Regions from separate parts of the Homo sapiens genome. Here region 1 is linked to region 2. Evidence: promoter capture Hi-C in 16 types of primary human blood cells and fetal thymus (Javierre and others, 2016). All regions are on one chromosome and are shown on one strand. The core of a region is centred on a gene start or on the middle of the fragment in contact, and the rest is flanking DNA. Distances in the headings are between cores, read along the strand shown.

The links. The method cuts DNA at HindIII sites, captures the fragments that hold promoters and counts their contacts. A CHiCAGO score of 5 or more calls a contact.
Region 1: a contact is called between a fragment that was not itself captured here and the fragment with the promoter of CDH10 in region 2, in 1 of 17 cell types (endothelial precursors). The highest score is 7.5, in endothelial precursors.

The regions. Positions count from the first base shown.
Region 1 is chr5:28,763,973-28,769,601 of GRCh38, reverse strand. No RefSeq gene overlaps it. Among named protein-coding and RNA genes, the nearest start is that of LINC02109, 380 kb to the left of the region's middle. The HindIII fragment of the contact is 1,144 bases long and covers 1,337-2,480 here.
Region 2 is chr5:24,642,615-24,647,999 of GRCh38, reverse strand. It overlaps CDH10 (cadherin 10), which reads left to right and starts at 3,022. Exons shown (of 12, transcript NM_006727.5): 1 at 3,022-3,406. LOC124901174 (a long non-coding RNA gene) reads right to left here and starts at 3,291. Exons shown (of 2, transcript XR_007059125.1): 1 at 2,928-3,291; 2 at 2,486-2,689. RefSeq lists an enhancer at 2,730-3,325. The HindIII fragment of the contact is 4,637 bases long and covers 1-4,391 here.

The DNA.
Region 1 (5,629 bases), core at 659-3,158, 4.1 Mb before region 2:
TGCCATAGTAATCATCTTACAGTGAATTGCCATCTTTCTGCTACCCATTCCCTTGCCCCTTAGCTTCTTGCATTTTTATTTATTTATTTATTCATCCATTCATTCATTCATTTATTTATTTTTGAGATGGAATTTCACTCATGTTGCCCAGGCTGCAGTGCAATGGCTCAATCTCAGCTCACTGCAACCTCCACCTCCCGGGTTGAAGCGATTCTCCTGCCTTAGCCTCCCGAGTAGCTGGGATTACAGGCGTGCACCACCACCCCAGGCTAATTTTTTATATTTTTAGTAAAGACAGGGTTTCACCATGTTAACCAGACTGGTCTCGAACTCCTGACCTCAGGAGATCCACCTGCCTCGGCCTCCCAAAATGCTGGAATTACAGGCGTGAGCCACTGTGCCCGGCCTATATTTGTTTTTATTTTCCCCAGAACATACTTTACTCTTTACTTTGCCTGGAAACAATCTGCATTCCAAATATGTTTAGAATTGCTATAAATGAGTAAGAGAAATACATAGCGTAATATTTTTAAATGAGCACAAAAATGAATTATGTATTCTATAATTCTATGAAAAGGTGTGTTCAATCTTGTAAGCATCAAAGCAAAACAAAACAACCATCAGAGTGGCAAAAGAAACAAAAAATTTCACTGTGCAGTGTGGATAAGAGAATAAGTTGATACAATCATTTTGGTAATTAGGATATATATACAAATTTGGAAGATGTACATAACTTATCACACAGAAATCCCACTGGATTTTATCGTAATAGATTTGAACTAGAAGAAAATCCTATGTCTATCAATTACAAAATAAATAATTATTTCATATTGATACAATGAATTACCATAGAGCAATAAAAATAAACGGTATCTCTAATATATAAAATTATCTAAGATAATTTTCACAAACCTTGACTGAAACAAGATATCAAATAAAAAACATATATTACCATTAATAAGCATAACAGACAAAACAAAATTAACTTTTAGGATGAATACAAAGGTGTATACCTTTTTTAAAAAAAGCAATATTTGGAGGCCAAGGCGGGCCAATCACGAGGTCAGGAGTTCATGACCAGCATAGTGAAACCCTGTCTCTGCAAAAAATACAAAAAATTAGCCGGGCATAGTGTCAGGTGCCTGTAATTCCAGCTACTCAGGAGGCTGAGGGAGGAGAATTGCTTGAACCTGGGAGGCAGAGGGTGCAGTGAGCCGAAATCACACCATTGCCCTCCAGCCTGGGCAACAGAGCGAAACTCTGTCTTAAAAAAAACAGGAGACAATTATTATAAATTGTAGTGTAAAGTTTACACCCAAGTCAGTTGCAGAAAGCTTTCATATTTATAGATGCATTGCTGGAGGCTTCTTGAATACTGGTTATAGTTATAGCCATGGCTCTTTGTTGTACCTTATTTTTTCCAGGCACATAAATTTTTATGTATATTCTTTATGTATGTTAAATCCTAACAAAACAAATACAGATTAATTTTAAAATACTAATTGGTTCTGTAATAAAGTAAACCTATTATGATTCACCTGCATAGAAAACTAAAATCCTAAATAGGATTCACAGAATATTATTTTTCAATGAGCAAGCCGAATCCCAGTAGTCTGCCTGAATGTTCCATCTGTGGCATATACTAGTTGTTTGCACTTGGCAAAGTTATTTTGTATCTCTGAGCCTGTTTTGTGATTTCTACAAAACTAATAGTAAAGGAACGCTTATCATCTCATTGTTGTGAGGATTCAATAATATGTGATATGAAAACTGCTTTACAATGTGGCTTATGATTATGATTATTATTTTTATTTAAACCATACTGTTAATTAAGAATGGAACTGGAACTGCTCTTGAGCCTTCCTGCTTCACAATGTATCCCTCACTTCTCTAACACATTCTGCTTTTAGGTTCCTCAAGGGCTCTGTGCAATTTAGTTTTATTTTCAGAATCATAAATCATCTCTGTCAAGCCTAGCATGTCTAGGCAAACATCCCATTATGGTGAGATTAAATTTTAATTTTTTGGAAATAAAAAATATCCAACAAGAATAACAACCTCATTAGATAAAAATGCACCTCCTGTGAGTTTGTGTCAATAATAAGACTAAGGATGTGATCTGCACTCTAGAATATTAACATATCAACTCTACCAACCAACAGTTATCTTCAATAATTTCATTTAAAAATTTTCGGTATAATCAGTTTTGAAATGTTTGTATGTGAGTCTTTCTAAAACAATATTTGACAATATTCTATTTCATATCTGAGTACTCTATTTTACATTTGTTTCTGAGTTTATCTACTCTAGTTTGTATTTCATTAAGTATGGTAAACAGCAAGGTATTGCTGCACCAAACAAGGTATTTCAAGAAGAAATAACTGAGAAATGAATGTGCAATTGGGTAATCAGAAAAGAAATAGAATGTAATTTCTTCCCAGTGTATTTTTTCATGACTACTTATGGTTTCTTTTGAAGCTTATGTAGAGGTTTTGTAATTGTATGACAGTAAAAGCAAATCTTGGTTTATAACTTAGGGTTAAAAAATCCTGATTGTGTTCACACAGTAACCAATTGTCTGTTTGTCTATTTGTTGAGTTTTTATGGCCTTCTTTATATTCACAGTATTAAATTTATTGTGGTACAAATGGATGGTTAAGGCAAGCAGAAACGCATACTTGTCTAATTTAAATATGTATTTGCTTTTATTTTCTATTACATTTCAGCTCATTAATTTAATTTAGTACATTTTCTCCTGTGCAACTAGAATGTTTATTAACGTGCTTATAACACATAAATGAGCAAGCCACACCAAAATATAGATTTTTTAGTTAAGACTTAAAATTTCCACCAGATGGCAGCCCAACCCCTAAAATGCTAGAGCTTACTAGAAACAGTAGAATGAATATGAAAATTTAATACTTGAGTGTCTGATAAAATAAAATGTTTTTTAATCTCTTAAAAATTAGTTATAATATATTGAATTATATTTAAGTTATTAAATGGGTAGGTATATAGGTATGTTAATATTTTGTTTTTTAGTCTTGATCTTATTTCACATTAAAGTTAAGAAACAGTAAATAAAATTTTTTACTAGAGACTGCATATTGTTTTCAAAAGTAAATAATAACATTAAACAGTATGTTTTCCTGAATGATGCACAAATTTCAAAATATTAGTTATGTACGTAAGGATCAGTGAAGGCAAGTCATATTAATTATGTCGACGTACAGATTTTTTTTAAAATAATACACAATTGATAAGCGCTATCTCTCTACTAGGAAAAAATAAAATAATAAAAACATTGATAATTTTAATAAGACATGCTTTTTGAATATAGAGGCAGAAATTAATTTTAGTGCAAAAACTATATTTAGTTTGGGGAGGAAAGAGATATTTTTATAGAGGGGATAATGCTTTATCTGGGCCTCAAGGAAGGTAAAATCAGTATTTATACATATGGGAAAAGGGAGAAAGCTATTCAGGAAATGGAGACCAGTGTATGTAGAGCCAAGGGTGTGAGAAGTGTCCTGGGTTGTTTGGAAAATGTGTAAGTTTGGGAGTAATCAGAAAATAAAATGAGTGCATCAAAATCAAGAGACAGAAGAGAGAAAAATATGGTAGATGATGATTATGAAGGCCTTGGAAACATACTAAAAAGTTTTAAAGCATAAACTATTTTAAATAAATCCCATTGCATATTTTAAGCAATGAAAGATTAATTGGGAAGCTGGAAAATCAGAGGCAAATTGTGTGCCCTGGGAAACAGTTTATAGAGTCTGATTCAAACAATAGGATGGAAAATGAAATGAAAAGAAGGTGACAGATGAACAAATGCACATTTCATTGGCGACTTCTTGTTATACTCCTTCAGTCACTAATAAGGAACCAATGCTTGCTCTTGGTTCCCAGGAAAGTGCCAAAGACTGTCCTGGGTTATTGTTTATCCCTTTTGCCTGTTTTAATGAACAATAGCAGTATTATTTTGGTAAGGGAGAAAAAAAGTATTTCTGAGATTTTTAATTTGAGAGACAGGACCATGATTGCTTTAACCAAGGTAGAGAATGCGTAAGTAACAAGCTGAAATGATGTTAAAATGAAGGAAGGGAAGACAGTGGTAGTTATCTTAGATTTGATATATTGATCTTTGGAAAGACAACCTAGTTGTTATAGCTAATAAGTAGTTGGGAACACAGATGAGACTGAAACTTTATAGAGATCTGGGCTGTAACAAAGATTTGACAGTCAAATCTGAAAAGCAACCTTTTGGGAGTGAATGAGGTTGTCAACGATAGTAGTAGGGAAGTGAGTAAGGAAGGACCCCAGAGAAGGTTGACACTGAAGTAGAAAGAAAATACATACATGCACACATTAAATAATATAACATTAATACTATTTAATGTGTATTGAGGATTTATCATCGCTCAGATACTCAATAAAATGCTTTAAATTTTAAAGAATATTGTGTCCTCTAAACAATTCTCTGAGGCAATATTGCTATTCCAATTTCACAGATGAGGAAATAGGTACAGAGAAGTTAGAAAATGTGGACTAGATGACACAGCAAGGATGTGGTAAAGTCAAGTTCTAAACTTCTATTATCTGATTCTATACTTTGAGCTTTTCTTCTCCAGGTTGTACTGTCTTTTAGGATAAAGTTCTAACTTCTCACATATTTTCCTTCCTTAATAAAATGATGAATTACATTGACAAATGATAAAGCATGCTTTCATTTTTGCTATACACTCTAGTTGAGAATATTATATTAAGCTTTTGGTATTATAGTTCCCTCCTTCCCTCCCTTCCTTCCTCCTCTCTCTTTCTTTTCTTTCTTCTTTCTTTTCTCTCTCTCTCTCCCCCCTCTCTCTCTCTCTTTTGTGTTTCTTAGGATTTTTACCTCTATATCTGTAAGTAAGACTTGGTTAATTTTTTTTTTTGCTTGTTTGCTTTTTCTAGAAGATGTTTGATAAAAGATTCTGGGAATGTAGACTGTCCTTAAGTCTTATATGTATTTATAATTCTTACATGCATTTATATGTATTTCAACACATGAAAATCGGAGCAACTTCCTTAACCACGAGAGTGTCTGTTGTTTTTTTAGTTGTTGTTATTGCTGCCACTGTTGGTTTCTGTCATTCCTGGCTGGGAAAAACGTCAGTTTGACTTTAGACTTGGGTTGGAAGTAGGAGTCAGTGGAAAGAGCAGTTGACATTACAGGTTGGAGAGGAATTGATGGCAAATCCTGGTCCTGGCAACACAGCTATGAAAGGAGATGCTAACAGTGGGACACAGGTTGACCTTGGGATTCGGGTATATATCTCTCCTAAACAAAAGGAAGAGAAAAGAAAGAATGAGGATGCAGAGTAATTTCTTCTGGAAATTTCTATCTCCTGCAACAAAACTGGATTAAGCAATGGGTGAATAATTGTGGGCCTGGACATTTACCCATATCATTAATTCAGAAAAAAAAGGTGTGATAAACAATAGATAGACACCTTTTTTATAGAAAAGTTGGTTTTGAAATATAGTGCTGTGTAACTCCAGCACTGAATGTGGAATGATGTTGTAACCAAAGCAGAAATGCAAAATATGGAAGTTTATTTACTTTTCTCTCTCATGGAATTTCCTC
Region 2 (5,385 bases), core at 1,773-4,272:
TATATTTGCAAAAGTTTTCATTAACTTTTATTTGCTTGTAGTTGATATATGGCCTCTCCTCATATTAAAGGACATTTCTGCGAGATATTGACCCATTCATTTCATTGAGAGTTTACTGTCCCTTTTACATTTCATTTATTCATTTCACTTCCCACGTGCTACCAGTTTCCTGATATTGGTAACAACAGGAAAACCCTATCTAATTCACAAGACTATTTCACATAAGATTTGGAGGGAAAATTATAAAGAAATAGAAAAACTTGCAGAATCCTAAGTTAACTCATTTATATTGTGAAATAAAGAAAATGAAAAATAATATTGTTTAATAAAACAAAACCCATTGTCAGAAGTTTTACATTTTAGTCAATGTTCTGTTTATTCTTTATTTTAATTTTAATTACTAGGGCGTATATTCGATAGGATGGCATTTGATCTCAGATATAGAGTCTTTCTAAGATGAGCATTAAGAAAAATGTGAATGGGTTTAATTCATTTATTGTTCAAATGTTTTCCTCTTCATTCTCTCACATCTATAACTAGATCCCCTGAACTTTGGAATACATGGATGCTTTGCCTATTATTTATTAATTATATTACTTGATCAAAAAAAGAAAAAATGCAATAACTGACAATTGTTTCATAAATGTTAAAATATTATTAACGTTATTTTGTATAGATACCTTTCACTAGCATTATAACATAATTTTAATTTTAAACTAGAATAAAAATTTGCTTTTCTCCAAAAAAGTACATTATACCAAATATACTACTCTATAATACATGAATATAATAGACAATCCTGCTGTTTGTACCCAATTCTGTCACCTCCCTAATAGCACCAGTGACTTTAGCTGGGCAAATAGTGAGAGTAAATACCACATCCCCAGCCTCCCTAGCAACAATGTGTGACCAAGTGTCTAAATTCCACCCAATGAGATCATGAAAGTGACATGTACATGTTCAGGGTCACATTTTTCAAAGGACGGGAGCAACTTTCTCTTGTTCCTTTTATTCCTTTTTCTAGAAGGTAGATGTGTGGTGATCTCTCCTGGATCATATAAATGAGTTCAATTCCTTAAAAACATTGAGCATCAAGACAGAAGGAAGCTGAGTTTCTGATGACTAGACAGGGCAGAATAAACACACCAACCAAAAACCTATGTAAGAGAAGCATAAACTATATAATTCAGAAAATGTTATTTTGGGAATACATCATTTCAACATGTATTCTAATTAATAAAATAGCAATTTACCTCAGATCTTAGCCTTTGGTTATTTTCTCGACCCATTTAAATGTAACCCCCAAATTCTTCACATTATGTAGTCATACATTTTGAAATTAGCACTAAACAAACATATGGAAATAGTTAATTTAATAAGAGAACAATGTGTGTGTGTGTACCTAACCTGCTGCATTTAATTAAATATTATAAATTTCTCTTGATAGCTAATTTAACATGTCAATAACAGTATTATATTGAATACACACATATACCAGGCAAACACAAATACACACAAATATACGTATCAGAGGTAAAAAACTGAATATCTATTTTCACTTGACTCTGAAATTAAGGCACCCTGTCGAAGAAAACATACAAAACATAACAAAAACTATGGGCAAATGATACGGTGATAATTCAGAATTCTAGCTCTATTATTATCAAACTTTAGAGGGGCCATAAAATTTTCCTGATCTTAATGCCATCGTCTGTAAAATTAAGAGTTTCAAAAGTCCATTTCTGCTCTAAATGTCATTTAGCTGTTCAGCTCAGTGGAAATGTTTGGTGTTTTCAAATATAAAACTAATTGGTAAAATTCATCATATAATAACACTGTGATACATTAAAACCTTTTTGGAATCTAATTTTGAATCTCCCTCTCACTTCTTTTTTGCCCCTCAGATTGAGTTTCTTCCTTTTTCATTGTGCTGATTATGTAAGGGGCCTGTTGACTGTTAGAATGATCAAACAGGTACAGAGGAGGCAGTATGGCAACCGGAAACAATACTAAACTGGAAGTAGGAGTGTGGTATTACAGCTTTGACCCCGCCTCCAGTTAGTCCTGTGACAATTTAACATTCTGAGCATTTTTATCTGCTAAAGAAATAATAATAATAACAGCCCAAAATGATCTTCGTAATTTCTCCTCTAGCTTTAAAACTATAATTGACATATATGTATTTATATGCATATATGTATGTATATGTGTATATAATTTATTTATGGATGGCACTTTAAAAGGAATCTACCTGTAGCCGGAAAAATGCAAAGATGTTAATTACTTTGTGGAGCTATACTGACATCCTTTGGTAAGGTTTGGTTGATTGCAATTTGATGTGGAGATTGATAAATAGCGAGACAGTTAGATGTTTAAGTAGATAGAACAATCCAAATGTATTTACATCTGTCCACACACTCATTTGGGTATGAAACCCGTATTTATGAGAAAAAACAACGTTAAAAAGAAAAAAAAGGAGACTGTGTCAAGTTCAAAGTCTAAATATTTTAATAACACTAATTACATATTTACATTTTTAATAAAATATTTTATCTATAAAGTATTAAAATGCAAAGATTAGGCAGAGAAGACTGGCTCGCGGACATTCCAAAATGATGAGCGAGGTATGCACTCCTGTGACAATAAGCAACAAGAGAAGGGATTTGGAAAATCAAGCCGAGAAAGTTCCCTGAAAGCAAAAAATAAACATTTAAAATCACAACGAAAAATCACTCTGGTAACATATCAAATCTGGTTGCAATTTGACTTGGCGCTCTGATAATACTTGGATTTCGGTAGTCTGGTGTAAGGACGGTGCAGGAATATATATTCCAGAAGAACTATCTTTTTTTAAAAAAAATTGCAAGAAGCAGTCCTGTTCCTGAGATTGTATTACGGACACAGGCGGATTAGATTGGGCTGATTACCTTAGCCTTGAAACAGAGAGTCTTTCTGCCCTGCGGGGGAGGGGACGCCTTTCAAGCAAAGCCCTCCTCTCGGATGCGCCCTCCCCTCGCATTCACTTGCAAATCGCTGTGTGCTCGCAGAAGCCAGCACTTCCACAGTCTCTAACCTTCCCATGGCGAGTGCTGCAGCTCTATCAGCAGAACCTTTCTCTCCGTGTGAGGAAGAGCTTTTTTCCCCCCTTTCCTTTTTTTTTTTTTTCCTTTCCCCTTAATCAGAAGCACTGAATGAAAGCCAATCAGAGAGAGCTCGCCCCCGTTTTCTTCGGTTCCCTGCTGTCCAGAGTTAAAAGTGATGCTGAGAAAGAGCTTGAGTTAGATTGAAGTAGAATCAGTGATAGAAAATAACAGCCGAAAACAAACAAAAAGGGGACATAGTGACAATTTCTCCTGGGTTATTTTGGCTGGAACCAACTTCCATTATCCAGAAGCTGATAAAAAAGGTAGGAAGACTTCACCTCTTTCTTTTAACTCCGTTAAGGTATTATATATTCCTCCACTTGAGGGGTGGGGGGGGAGAGGGAGGAGATAAATGTTTGTTTTTAAGTTGTGTTTAGCAATTATTTCAAAATAATTATCTTTAATACTTAAATAAGCATACAACTCTATATATTTAATTCTAGAAACAACTGCTTCGAATATCTATATAGGCAATGTAAAGCTGGATAAATTATATATTATGCTCAACAGTGGGTCATGATATTAGAGTTTGTGAATTCATTCACTTGGAACAAATGCTAAAAAATATGTTATGAAGTGAATTTGTCATGCCCAGACTTGTTCATTTTTATTTTAAAAATCAGTTCAAGAGATAACATTGTTACTGTGAACTCTAACATCATCTAACATTACTTTGCATTCCATATGAATGGATTCACTCTGCACTTATTCGTAGTCATAGTTCATTGTACGTTCAATATAAACAGAAATGACAGGCAGAAGACAGATTCCTTGAAACTGTCAATGGTCACTAAGCATCTACATAAATACAATAGATTGACATTCATCAGAAATAGAATAGGCAGAATTCTTATTTTCAATTTTATATCTGAGTCAGAAGTATTGGGGGGAGAGAGGTAAAGAGAGGGAGAGTAAATGCATGTAGTCAGCAGTTGCAGCATTTATTGTTTCTGCTGCAATAAAATCCATATTTTATGTGTTGTTAAATTAATGCAGCATATTGCAAGTATAAATGCATGTCCCCAACAAGTAACTATTGATAGCACTGTAACTATGGGCAAAAGCAGTAGTCTGAAATTGTTTTTATGCCACTAAAATAAAAACCTACTGTCTCCTTATTATGAAAAAAGGGGAGTCTACAGGTACAAAGACAAATATTGTTTTAAAAATGACCTATCATCTTTTGCTTTGAAAAAACAGATGTTTCCTATAATTGTGGTCCTTCATTCCTTCATTCCAGTGAAAGCTTCTATTATCCAAAACTGCACATCCATTACTTCTCAGCTCTTTGGAGATACATTATTTTTTCTCCTCTTTTTTTTTTTCTTGAAGGATCTGTATTAAAAATAATCTGTCCTTCTGATGTTGACAACTGTTATACTTCAATGCATATGTTAGTAGACTTTCTCCCTCCATACCATCCCCCTCTCTATCTTCCTTTAAAACGTAGCTACAAGAGCTTCTCTGTGGTGAATAACACTTGGCAAGAGTGTGCTCATTTTTTAGGTCTGGTATGGTGAGGATTTTTAATTAGTAGAACTTTCATGAAAACATTATGTCATTGACAGAGCCGTATGTTCATTTTTAGTTAAAAGTGATGAAGAAGAAAGAAAGAGGTTATGTCCTAGAAACACAGGTAAATGCTAAGTCGCATAGATAATCTGCACCCCGCTCCCCCGAGTGTACTAAATGTGGCACATATGTATTCAATGTGCAATGCATAAGGAAGTAATGGTTTATTTGGGGAGGGATGTGGTGAAGAGACTGGAGAGTGCACAGGTGTAAACAGCGTGGATCTGTGCCTTAGGGACACGTCAGATGCAAACCCATTCTGATGATAAAAATATAAAGAAATACTTCTTTCACTTTTTTTTTTTTTGGCTGTGTTATTAAAGTGTGAGTCAATGTCTGCTTTCATTAAATCAGATACTTCTTGGGTTTCAAATACTTGCTGTGAACAAATTGACTTCTCTGGTGAATGCATACGCCTTCCCTGACTTCAATCAAAGAATAGAATTTCATACACTTAAAGGTTTGGGGGAAAAAAAACAACAAACAAAACCAAAATCTCTGGGAAATGGGAAAAAAGAAGGTAAACTGTATGAGCATCCACCTACATATGCATATGTGTGAAGTCAATGGTTAAATTGTTTGGTACCTGATTAATGCTCTAGGTGATGTTCCTTGATGTTTATAGAAACTGTTTATTAATTAGAACAGTGCTATGCAGGTAATCAATTTA